2 separate regions of the Homo sapiens genome follow, and region 2 is linked to region 1. The links are contacts of gene promoters, found by promoter capture Hi-C in blood cells and fetal thymus (Javierre and others, 2016). All regions are on one chromosome and are shown on one strand. The core of a region is centred on a gene start or on the middle of the fragment in contact, and the rest is flanking DNA. Distances in the headings are between cores, read along the strand shown. Region 1 overlaps DYNC2I2 (dynein 2 intermediate chain 2). Region 2 holds the start of DOLK (dolichol kinase).

Evidence for each region. The method cuts DNA at HindIII sites, captures the fragments that hold promoters and counts their contacts. A CHiCAGO score of 5 or more calls a contact.
Region 2: the fragment with the promoter of DOLK here is called in contact with a fragment that was not itself captured in region 1 in 1 of 17 cell types (naive B cells); the score reaches 6.5 in naive B cells.

What each region holds. Positions count from the first base shown.
Region 1 is chr9:128,635,040-128,640,614 of GRCh38, reverse strand. DYNC2I2 (dynein 2 intermediate chain 2) reads left to right here. Exons shown (of 9, transcript NM_052844.4): 3 at 3,588-3,697; 4 at 4,177-4,334; 5 at 4,848-4,957; 6 at 5,356-5,523. Among named protein-coding and RNA genes, the nearest start is that of DYNC2I2, 19 kb to the left of the region's middle. RefSeq lists enhancers at 3,920-4,670, 4,723-5,575. The HindIII fragment of the contact is 5,285 bases long and covers 1,669-5,575 here.
Region 2 is chr9:128,943,522-128,950,298 of GRCh38, reverse strand. It overlaps DOLK (dolichol kinase), which reads left to right and starts at 2,696. Exons shown (of 1, transcript NM_014908.4): 1 at 2,696-4,769. The coding sequence starts at 2,996. The coding sequence ends at 4,612. It overlaps NUP188 (nucleoporin 188), which reads right to left and starts at 2,600. Exons shown (of 44, transcript NM_015354.3): 1 at 2,548-2,600; 2 at 1,056-1,110. The coding sequence starts at 2,579. RefSeq lists enhancers at 2,481-2,530, 2,250-2,811, 2,881-2,950, 2,812-3,373, 3,374-3,936. The HindIII fragment of the contact is 6,982 bases long and covers 1-6,443 here.

The sequences.
Region 1 (5,575 bases), core at 3,062-5,561:
TAACAGCCGTGCCAGTCATCATCACGGCCAGCAATCACCAGGCTCTAATGTCCTGCCTGGTACTGCGCTAGGTTCCCTAAGAATAAGTCAGTGAGCCTTCACTGCTGACCTTGAGGTCGGTATTGTTCTGTCCACTTTACAGTTAGGGAGATGGACACCCTATATGGAAGTAACGTCCAGAGTGAAACTGAGCAGCTGAGCAGTGGAGGCAGGCTAGAGTCTGGGTGGCCCGGCTGCCCTGCCTCCCCATGTACGGTGCAGTGAGGGCCTTCTTTGGGCCAGGCACAGTTTAAGAATGTCTCCTTGGCCAGGTGTGGTGGCTCACGCCTGTAATCCCAGCACTTTGGGAGGCCGAGGCGGGCGGATCACAATGTCAGGAGATGGAGACCATCCTGGCTAACACGGTGAAACCCCGTCTCTACTAAAAATACAAAAAAAAATTAGCCGGGCGTAGTGGCAGGTGCCTATAGTCCTAGCTACTCTGGAGGCTGAGGCAGGAGAATGGCGTGAGCCCGGGAGGTGGAGCTTGCAGTGAGCTGAGGTCACGCCACTGCACTCCAGCCTGGGCAACAGAGCGAGACTCTGTCTCAAAAAAAAAAAAAGAATGTCTCCTGTGGTATCTTCTTCACTCCTCAAAACAACTGTATGAGGCTGGGCACAGTGGCTCACGCCTGTAATCCCAGCACTTTGGGAGGCCAAGGTGGGTGGATCACCTGAGGTTGGCAGTTCGAGACCAGCCTGGCCAACATAGTGAAACCTCCTCTCTACTAAAAATACAAAAATTAGCCAGGCGTGGTGGTGCACGCCTGTTGTTCCAGCTACTCGGGAGGCTGAGGCAGGAGAATCACTTTAACCCGGGAGACGGAGCTTGCAGTGAGCTGAGACTGTGCCACTGCACTCCTGCCTGGGTGACAGAGCAAGACTCCATCTCAAAAAAAGACAAAAAAACAACAAAAAAAAACTGTATGAGGTAGTGCTATTATAATCTTCAGTTTATAGATGAGGCTGAGAGAGGCTAAGTGACATATCCAGGTCCACACACACAGCTCCAGAACTTGAACCCCAGTCTCTCTGGTTTCACTGCCATGCTCTGGGTCATCTGCCCTCCAAGTACAGTCCAGAGTCATGACCCTGTAAATGCTGATGGGCAGTTGGGCAGACAGTATTGGGTTTGAGATGAGGGAGCTTTTGTCTTTTTCTTTTTTTTTTATTTTTTTGAGACAGAGTCTCGCTCTGTCACCCAGGATGGAGTGCAGTGGCATGATCTTGGCTCACTGCAACCTCTGCCTCCCGGGTCCAAGCAATTCTCCTGTCTCAGCCTCCTGAGCAGCTGGGATTACAGGCACCCGCCACCACGCCCGGCTAATTTTGTATTTTTGGTAGAGATGGATTTCACCATGTTGGTCAGGTTGGTCTCGAATTCCTGACCTCAGGTGATCTGCCTGCCTTGGCCTCCCAAAGTGCTGTGATTACAGGCGTGAGCCACCTCGCCTGGCCAAAAAAATTTTTTTAGAGTTAGGGTCTTCCTATGTTGCCCAGGCTGTAGTTCAGATGGGCTCAAGAGATGCTCCTGCCTCAGCCTCCTGAGATGATTTTTTACAAAGTATAAACATTCCTTGAACCAAAATCCAGATCAAGAAAGTGAACATTACAAGGCCTGTAAAAGCTTCCTTCCACCTCCTAGCCCATTGTATAGCTTTGTTTGAAAATAATAGGTTCATGCGTGTTGTGGCTTGGGTTGGTGCTGCGTTCCTTTTTACAGCTGCATGGTGTTGCATGGACAGACCACATTCATTTAGCCACTCATCAGCTAATGGACATTTGGGCTATTCCCCTTTTTGGCTATAGTGAGTCATGCTCTTGTGGACATTGGTGTACAGGTGTCCATGTGGACATGAGTTTTCATTTCTCTAGGGTCTAAACCTATGAGTGGAGTTGCTGGTCCTGGTCTCCTGCAGCTTGTTCTCCACAGCAGAGGCACCTCTTGCACATGCTGCAGCAGTGCGCGGGGTGTGGCTGTGGAGCTCTTTGTGGAGTGTGGAGTCTTTCCAGTGGATAGTTTCTTTTTTATTTTTTTACAAAATGCATTTTTTTTTTTTGAGATGGAGTCTCGCTCTGTCGCCAGGCTGGAGTGCAATGGCGTGATCTGGGCTCACTGCAACCTCTGCCTCCTGGGTTCAAGCTATTCTGCTGCCTCAGCCTCCTGAGTAGCTGGGACCACAGGCACGTGCTACCACACCCAGCTCATTTTTTGTATTTTTAGTAGAGATGGGTTTCACCATGTTGGCCAGGATGGTCTTGAACTCCAGACCTTGTGATCCGCCCGCCTCCGCCTCCCAAAGTGCTGGGATTACAGGCATGAGCCACCAGGCCTGGCCTTTTTTTTTTTTTTTTGAGACAGGGTCTTGCTCTGTTGCTTAGGCTGGAGAGCAGCAGTGCAACCTCTGTGTCCTGGGTTCAAGTGATCCTCCCACCTCAACTTCCTGAGTAGCTGGGATTACAGGCTCTGACCCCCATGCCCAGCTAATTTTTGTATTTTTGGTAGAGACGGGGTTTCACCATCTTGCCTACACTGGTCTTGAACTCCTGAGCTTAAGCTATCCTCCTGCCTCAGCCTCCCAAAGTGCTGAGATTACAGGCGTGAGCCATCGTGCCCGGCCCTCAGTTGATAGTTTCTTTATGTAGAATCATGAGGTCAACAGATCTGAAACGTCAGAGGATCTGAGAGGCTGTTTGGATTCCTGGCACACACCACTTCCTGGGCAGCTGGTGCCTACCCCTGGCTAGGCTGGTCGTCAGCCTCCTCACATGCAGCTGTGGCCGGCTGCAGGGCTGAAAGCAAGATGCCAGAGCTTGACAAAAAATCGTGGGCAGCCAGGCACAGCAGCTCATGCCTGTCATCTCAGCACTTTGGGAGACCGAGGCAGGCGGATCACCTGAGGTCAGGAGTTCGAGACTAGCCTGGGCAACATGGTGAAACCCCGTCTCTGATAAAAATATAAAAATTATCCAGGTTTGGTGGCACGCGCCTGTAATCCCAGCTACTTGGGAGGCTGAGGCATGAGAATCACTTGAACCCAGGAGGTGGCAGTTGCAGTGAGTGGAGACTGCACCATTGCACTCCAGCCTGGGCCACAGAGTGAGACTCTGTCTCAAAAAGAAAACCAACCAACTAACCACCACAAACAACAAAAAATCATGTGCGTGTAGCACAGCGTGACGTCGGGTGGTTCGCTTGACCCCTTGTACTTGGCCGCGTTGGGCACTTTTATGCTGCTGGGCAACCATCCCCACCTTCCTGCTGCAGCCCCTGAGGCTTGGAAACTGTGGAGTGTGCCTGTGAGGGCAGCCACCCCTCTGGGCGGGAGCCTGGTCGGCCTTGCTTCTCAGGCCATGCCTTCTGGGCTTCTGGAAGCATTCTGCTGGGGCAGATGTGGGGATGAACGTGCCACATTTTCCTCTAGGCCTGGCTGATGGACTTGAGGGCCTCTAGGGCTAAGGGTGGCCTGGCCTAGGTGGGGTTTGGTTAGGCAGTCATGAGGCCCCTGCTGGTGGCTTTGGACTCAGGGTTGGGGACGTCTCCGCAGGTGTCTTGTCTGTATACCCTGGGCTACCCGCCAGCCCAAGCGCAGGGTCTGCATGTGACCAGCATCTCCTGGAACTCCACTGGCTCTGTGGTGGCCTGTGCCTACGGCCGGTGAGTGGCAGCGGGGCAGGTGAGGGGCAGCTCGCCACCCCAGGACCCTCCTTGGGCCTTGTCTCTGTAGCTGCACAGGGAAGGGCTGGTTCTAAGAGCTTGGCCATCCTGGGAGTCTCTTCTCAAGCCTTCCTGGGCAGGGTTGACAACAAGTGGCAGAAGAGCAGGCAGTGGGGCTGAGTGCCAGGATCACCCTCCCCCCTGCCTGGAGGCCCTGGGCCTGCCTGCCTCGCCCGCCCCACCAGCTGCTTCCCCATCCTGCATGGCATGGACTGTCCTTGGTGCCTGGGGACCATTTTCCAGAGAATGCCACACCCTTGGGGTGCTAGAGTGGAGTGTGGGCCACTTCAATACCCAGAGTAGTGTCTGGTGGTGACAAGGACACAGCGAGTGTGTCCGGGGCTAGTGGGGAGAGAGGTGGGGTGGGTGATAGGAGCCCCACCCAGGGGCACAGCCGGCTCAAGCCTGTCCCTGCACAGGCTGGACCATGGGGACTGGAGCACGCTTAAGTCCTTCGTGTGTGCCTGGAACCTGGACCGGCGAGACCTGCGTCCCCAGCAGCCGTCGGCCGTGGTGGAGGTCCCCAGCGCTGTCCTGTGTCTGGCCTTCCACCCCACGCAGCCCTCCCACGTCGCAGGTGAGCTGCCTGCTGTGTCCGCCTCCTCTCCTCTCAGGACTCAGCTTCCCGCCCTGCAGAGGGCACAAGGGAGCTTTCCATGGGCCCTTTGGCCCGGAGACAGGAAGGCGGGCCCTGACCCTCTCAGTCTGGAGCCCAGGTGAAGGTCTGCAGTGAGCCCTGAGGGGTGGAACTCGGGGGAGGAGTCTGGAAGGGGGCCAGGGTCGGGGCCAGGACAGGGGGCTGTGGAGAGGCCAGAAGAGGCAGGTGCCCTTGGGAAGCCGTCAGTGGTAGGGGGCAGGCAACGCTGGAGGGAGCTGCCAGGTGCAGGGCAGGGGTGTCCGGCAAAGCTCCCTGGGGTACAACAGGGGAGCTGGGGGCTAGGACTCTCCCTCTGTGGGGATGACTTCCAGCCAAGTGGCTCTGCCGCCTGGCCCTGGCCCTGGCCCTGTAGGTGGGCTGGGGCGGGTGTTTGGCCAGGAAGTCAGGCTGGGGGTGGGGCTGAGCCTCTGCCCAGGTCCACTGTCCCTGCAGGAGGGCTGTACAGTGGTGAGGTGTTGGTGTGGGACCTGAGCCGTCTTGAGGACCCGCTGCTGTGGCGCACAGGCCTGACGGATGACACCCACACAGACCCTGTGTCCCAGGTCAGGGCAGGGGCTGCCGGGCGGGGTGGGCCCTGAGGCAGAGCTGGGGAGAGGGCGCCCACTCTCCTAGGAAGGTCACCCGGGCGTTGGCAGTTGGACAGCTGCCTCCTGCATTCTCGGAGCTCCCGCAGCATGAGTCACCCCCCTCAGGAGCCACTCCCAGGGCCCTGTGGCCATTCCCAGCCTCCTCTGCAGGCACCGAGTGAGCAGCGCTGGGATTCTGGGACTGGAGAGGGCCCTGGGAACCCTCCAGGCCTGCCCCCTGGTGGGTGAGCCTGGTTCTGGGGCCTCCCGGAGAATTTTTTTTTTTCCTGGAAGAGAGGGAGGGTAGGGGTGGAGCGTGACACCTGGGCAGGTGTCCCTTGTCTCCATCCTGGCCCTGCATGCTGTTAACTCAGGTGGTGTGGCTGCCCGAGCCTGGGCACAGCCACCGCTTCCAGGTGCTGAGTGTGGCCACCGACGGGAAGGTGCTACTCTGGCAGGGCATCGGGGTAGGCCAGCTGCAGCTCACAGAGGGCTTCGCCCTGGTCATGCAGCAGCTGCCACGGAGCACCAAGCTCAAGAAGGTACGTGGGCACCCGGAAACTGCCCTGGCCTGCGCCGGTGAGCCTTGGGGGT
Region 2 (6,777 bases), core at 1,447-3,946, 310 kb before region 1:
AGTGAGCCAAGATCGTGCCACTGCACTCCAACCTGGGCGAGAGCCAGACTCTGTCTCAACAACAACAAAAAAACGTAGCCGGGTGTGGTGGCTCATGCCTGTAATCCCAGCACTTTGGGAGGCTGAGGCAGGCAGATCACCTGAGGTCGGGAGTTCAAGACCGACCTGGCCAACATGGCAAAACCCTGTCTCTACTAAAAATATAAAAATCAGCAGGGCGTGGTGGTGGGCACCTCTAATCCCAGCTACTGGGGAGGCTGAGGCAGGAGAATCACTTGAACCCAGGTGGCAGAGGTTGAAGTGAGCCAAGATCGAGCTACTTACACTCCAGCCTGGGAGCAAGACACCCCCCTCAAAAAAAAAAAAAAAAAAAAAAAAAGTGGCCGTCACGCCTGTTATCCCAGGACTTTGAGATGCCAAGGCAAGTAGATCACCTGAGGTCAGGAGTTCAACACCAGCCTGGCCAACATGGTGAAACCCTGTCTCCACTAAAAATACAAAAATTAGCCAGGTGTGGTGGCATGCACCTGTAATCTCAGCTACTCGGGAGGCTGTGGCAGGAAAATCGCTTGAACTCGGGAGGCGGAGGTTGCAGTGAGCTGGGATCATGCTGTTACACTCCAGCCTGGGTAACAAGAGTGAAACTCCATCTCAAAATAAATAAATAGGCCAGGTGTGGTGGCTCACGCCTATAATCACAGCAATTTGGGAGGCCAAGGAGGGCAGATCACCTAAGGTCGGGAGTTGGAGACCAGCCTGACCAAAATGGAAAAACCCCATCTCTACTAAAAATACAAAATTAGTCGGGCGTGGTGGTGCATGCCTGTAATCCCAGCTACTCGAGAAGCTGAGGCAGGAGAATCGCTTGAACCTGGGAGGCGGAGGTTGCGGTGAGCCGAGATCACGCCATTGCACTCCAGCCTGGGAAACAAGAGCGAAACTCTGTCTCTAAATAAATAAATGTGTTTACTTCCTACATTTAAAAAAAGGTTTTTTTTGGTAACAAAAGCTACACAAAGAACCCAGAGAACCCACTCAAGAACACCACCACTTACCAGCTCTCTCAGAGCTGACCTTCCAAGCAGAATAGTCCACAGTTCTCTACTGCTCCTGCAAAATGAGAGAACAGAGGTAATTTTGCTCTTTCTGATCATACAAACTTGTACACTGCCTCATAGCCATTTTGTCTGCTCTCTAAAAGCAAAAAATCTCAATATACAAAACGATTTGTTAAATTTTTGGAAAGTAATCTTGTTATATAATAATATTGTTAGGGCCGGGCACGGTGGCTCATGCCTGTAATCCCAGCACTTTGGGAGGTCGAGGCGGGCGGATCATGAGGTCAGAAGATCGAGACCATCCTGGCTAACACAGTGAAACCCTGTCTCTACTGAAAATACAAAAAATTAGCCAGGCGTTGTGGCGGGTGCCTGTATCCCCAGCTACTTGGGAGGCTGAGGCAGGAGAATGGCATGAACCCGGGAGACAGAGCTTGCAGTGAGCCGAGATCGTGCCATTGCACTCCAGCCTGGGCGACAGAGCGAGACTCCGTCTCAAAAAAAAAAAAAAAAAAAAAAAAAAAAAAAAGTGGGGAAAACACTGCTGGCACAGGGAAGGATAAGAGACGGGGATGTTTAACTTTGAGGGAGGGTGGTGGGAAGAACGAAGACCTTCGAGCTGCAATGTGGAAGACAGAAGGAGGCGTGGTGGTCTGGTTATAGCACTGGAGGTACGCAGACTTCAGCTTGAAGGCTCTCTTTATCACTTGGCTAGCTCTGAGCCGGACTTCTGAGTCATCTGTGAAATAGAAGGCGCCTCTCGGAGTTGCGAGAATTGAATGAGATAACTCCTGGGAAGCGCTCCACCAGGGTCTGACGCTAGAAAGCACTTTGTCAGAATTGTAGTTTTCGTATATAATATTTCATCTTCTTGTCCCTAAAGCCTAGTTCAATCCCTGAAATCTCTTGGAGGATTTGGACATGCTGGCTGACTTGATTCAGTGCAAGAAAAGAACGATACGAGGCGCGGAGAGGACAGAAGCCGCAAGCGTGGCTCCGCTCAACGCGAAACAAAATCCTAACAAGAACAGATCGCGGGAGAGGTCGGGGAGCCAGCAGGGCGCACTCGACGCCGGGGCAGGACACTGGGAGCCTGCAGCAGGGACGTGGGTGGGGGGTACCCCAGGAGACCGCAAAGCTCCCCGTGGCTCGAGGGAGCGTCACGGCCGGAGAAGGAAGCGCGGGTGGGGCGCCAAGAGACGCGTCGGAGGTGAGAGAGGAGGAAGGCAAAGGGCCCTGGGTGAGGAGATGGGAGGCCGAGCGCGGAGGGAAGGGGTGAAGAGCCGGCCCCCCTCCTGAAGAAGACTCTTCAGATCCCCGCGCGCGGGGACCGTTTGGACGTAACCGCCTCCCGTCTCGGTGCCCGTCCATCCAGCCGGGGTTGGCCCTGCCACTGTCGCCACATCCCGCCTCCAATTCCCGCCCCGCTTCCGCTCGGCTTTGACACCGCGCTTCACAGCCACCCCGGTCCATTCGACCCGCTCCGCACCTCACACACGGCCCGCCGGCGGCCGCCGCCATCTTCGCGCGCCCGCTCGCCCTAACCCCGCCCCCAGACGCCATGCCCACGTGACCGCTCGCCCCCGGACCCGGAGCGTGGGCGGGGATTTCGTCACGTGACGTTGCCGCGGGGCGGTGCCAAGATGGCGAGGCCCAAAGAGGTGAGGAGCCGGCAGCGGGGGCGGCTGTAACTGTGAGGAAGGCTGCAGAGTGGCGACGTCTACGCCGTAGGTTGGAGGCTGTGGGGGGTGGCCGGGCGCCAGCTCCCAGGCCGCAGAAGTGACCTGCGGTGGAGTTCCCTCCTCGCTGCTGGAGAACGGAGGGAGAAGGTTGCTGGCCGGGTGAAAGTGCCTCCCTCTGCTTGACGGGGCTGAGGGGCCCGAAGTCTAGGGCGTCCGTAGTCGCCCCGGCCTCCGTGAAGCCCCAGGTCTAGAGATATGACCCGAGAGTGCCCATCTCCGGCCCCGGGGCCTGGGGCTCCGCTGAGTGGATCGGTGCTGGCAGAGGCGGCAGTAGTGTTTGCAGTGGTGCTGAGCATCCACGCAACCGTATGGGACCGATACTCGTGGTGCGCCGTGGCCCTCGCAGTGCAGGCCTTCTACGTCCAATACAAGTGGGACCGGCTGCTACAGCAGGGAAGCGCCGTCTTCCAGTTCCGAATGTCCGCAAACAGTGGCCTATTGCCCGCCTCCATGGTCATGCCTTTGCTTGGACTAGTCATGAAGGAGCGGTGCCAGACTGCTGGGAACCCGTTCTTTGAGCGTTTTGGCATTGTGGTGGCAGCCACTGGCATGGCAGTGGCCCTCTTCTCATCAGTGTTGGCGCTCGGCATCACTCGCCCAGTGCCAACCAACACTTGTGTCATCTTGGGCTTGGCTGGAGGTGTTATCATTTATATCATGAAGCACTCGTTGAGCGTGGGGGAGGTGATCGAAGTCCTGGAAGTCCTTCTGATCTTCGTTTATCTCAACATGATCCTGCTGTACCTGCTGCCCCGCTGCTTCACCCCTGGTGAGGCACTGCTGGTATTGGGTGGCATTAGCTTTGTCCTCAACCAGCTCATCAAGCGCTCTCTGACACTGGTGGAAAGTCAGGGGGACCCAGTGGACTTCTTCCTGCTGGTGGTGGTAGTAGGGATGGTACTCATGGGCATTTTCTTCAGCACTCTGTTTGTCTTCATGGACTCAGGCACCTGGGCCTCCTCCATCTTCTTCCACCTCATGACCTGTGTGCTGAGCCTTGGTGTGGTCCTACCCTGGCTGCACCGGCTCATCCGCAGGAATCCCCTGCTCTGGCTTCTTCAGTTTCTCTTCCAGACAGACACCCGCATCTACCTCCTAGCCTATTGGTCTCTGCTGGCCACCTTGGCCTGCCTGGTGGTGCTGTACCAGAATGCCAAGCGGTCATCTTCCGAGTCCAAGAAGCACCAGGCCCCCACCATCGCCCGAAAGTATTTCCACCTCATTGTGGTAGCCACCTACATCCCAGGTATCATCTTTGACCGGCCACTGCTCTATGTAGCCGCCACTGTATGCCTGGCGGTCTTCATCTTCCTGGAGTATGTGCGCTACTTCCGCATCAAGCCTTTGGGTCACACTCTACGGAGCTTCCTGTCCCTTTTTCTGGATGAACGAGACAGTGGACCACTCATTCTGACACACATCTACCTGCTCCTGGGCATGTCTCTTCCCATCTGGCTGATCCCCAGACCCTGCACACAGAAGGGTAGCCTGGGAGGAGCCAGGGCCCTCGTCCCCTATGCCGGTGTCCTGGCTGTGGGTGTGGGTGATACTGTGGCCTCCATCTTCGGTAGCACCATGGGGGAGATCCGCTGGCCTGGAACCAAAAAGACTTTTGAGGGGACCATGACATCTATATTTGCGCAGATCATTTCTGTAGCTCTGATCTTAATCTTTGACAGTGGAGTGGACCTAAACTACAGTTATGCTTGGATTTTGGGGTCCATCAGCACTGTGTCCCTCCTGGAAGCATACACTACACAGATAGACAATCTCCTTCTGCCTCTCTACCTCCTGATATTGCTGATGGCCTAGCTGTTACAGTGCAGCAGCAGTGACGGAGGAAACAGACATGGGGAGGGTGAACAGTCCCCACAGCAGACAGCTACTTGGGCATGAAGAGCCAAGGTGTGAAAAGCAGATTTGATTTTTCAGTTGATTCAGATTTAAAATAAAAAGCAAAGCTCTCCTAGTTCTAGTTTTGCTGATATATTTTTTTTTTTATTTTTTTTTGAGACAGTTTTGCTCTTGTTGCCCAGGTTGGAGTGCAATGGCGCGATCTCGGCTCACCGCAACCTCCACCTCCCAGGTTCAAGCGATTCTCCTGTCCCAGCCTCCTGAGTAGCTGGGATTACAGGCATGCGCCACCATGCCCAGCTAATTTTGTATTTTGAGTAGAGACAGGGTTTCTCCATGTTGGTCAGGCTGGTCTCGATCTCCCGACCTCAGGTGATCTGCCCACCTTGGCCTCCCAAAGTGTTGAGATTACAGGCGTGAGCCACCATCCCAGCCTTGCTGATATTTAAAAAGAAAAGAGTCTTAAGGGATAGTCCAGCAACTCAAAGAACCTGAGTGTGCTATAGAGCCCCCTCTTTCGCCCTGCAGCCTCGGAGGAGGCCAGAGTGGACACTGGAGGGAGTAAAGCATAATGGTTAACACTTTAGTCTCTGGGTCAAACTAATCTGGTCAGAATCCTTGGCTGCACAGCTTCTTACTAACTTTGTGACCTTGAATGGCCAGGCGTGGTGGCTCATGCCTGTAATCCCAGCACTTTGGGAGGCCGAGGCAGGTGGATCACCTGAGGTCGGGAGATCGAGACCAGCCTGACCAACATGGAGAAACACTGTCTCTACTAAAAATACAAAATTAGCCAGGCGTGGTGGCATATGCCTGTAATCCCACCTACTAGAGAGGCTGAGGCAGGAGAATCACTTGAACCTGGGAGACGGAGGTTGAAGTGAGCTGAGATCGCGCCATTGCACTCCAGTCTGGGCAACAAGAGCGAAACTCCGTCTCAAAACAAAACAAAACAAAACAAAAAAACAACTTTGTGACCTTGGGTGAGTCACTTAGCCAGGCTGAACCTCAATTCTCTTGCAGATGGGAGTAATGACAGCCCACACCTCGCGGGGTGTTGTGAGGGTCCAGCCTAGAGCCCACCCTTGATAAGCAGTCAGAAAGGGAGTCATTTTTACCAAAGACCAGTCCTCATCTTAGTGAAAAGCCGAAAAGCTGGGCAAACCACTTGGAAACCAGAGTGACCTTTGCTCTCCTGGCTTCACTTGGAGGTGGAGAACTCCTGAGGGAAAGAGCAGAGGGCTAGGAATTACTGAAGGGAGAGGTGGGTCAACTTTGGCAGGGTTGAGGGAGGATCAGATCCTGCTTGGGCTGGATCTTGTTTTAGCCAACCCCACCCCGCCTCTGGTGTCCCACTGAGTGGTGTCCATAGAGAAAGATGGGCTGAACAGCACCAGGACCTCATCAAGGGGCCCTTCTTAAGACCTTTCCATGTTCTAATCCTATCCAAACCTGTGTTTGTCTTTTCCTAAGGTAGGAAAGATCCACAGGGGCTGGGGGAGTTTCCTGAGAGGTAAAATGACTGTATGAGGGGCCCACGCTGCAGCCTTGCTCTCTGGCTGGGAAGACAGGCTCCGGCACTGCCTCACTCCCCACCCCATCCCCCAAGGCTAGCACAGGGCACTGACAAGGAGCAGGAAATCAGTAGATTTGGGAGTCCATCTGCACTGTGTCCCTCCCAGAATTGTACACTACACAGATAGTGAATGGATAAACATTTTCCGTCACTAGGAAGATAGCACAGCAAGATTCCTGAGGCTGGACAAGGTTCTCCCTTTCTCCCCAAGCTTGGGAGGACATCAGAGGAGGTGAGAGCTTTGGTCCACCAAGGCCAGAAGCCGGGAGCAGAGCTCCAGGGAGCGAAGCTTCTGCTTGAGAATCACTGCCATGTCCTTTCCCTCAGAGGAGAGTATTGAGACATTTCTTTGGGACTCAATGGAGACGCTTCCCTTCTCTTAGGCTCCCTCCTATTGCTTGCAAAAGGAAGCAGCAAAATGTTGGTGAAAGAGCACCAGCTTTGCCCCACGGACTCCCAGGGTGGCCTTGGGAAAGGGCTCTATCCTCTGGGCCTTGGGTTGTCCATGTATATAGTTGGGGGATAGGCTACATCAGGGTCACAAACT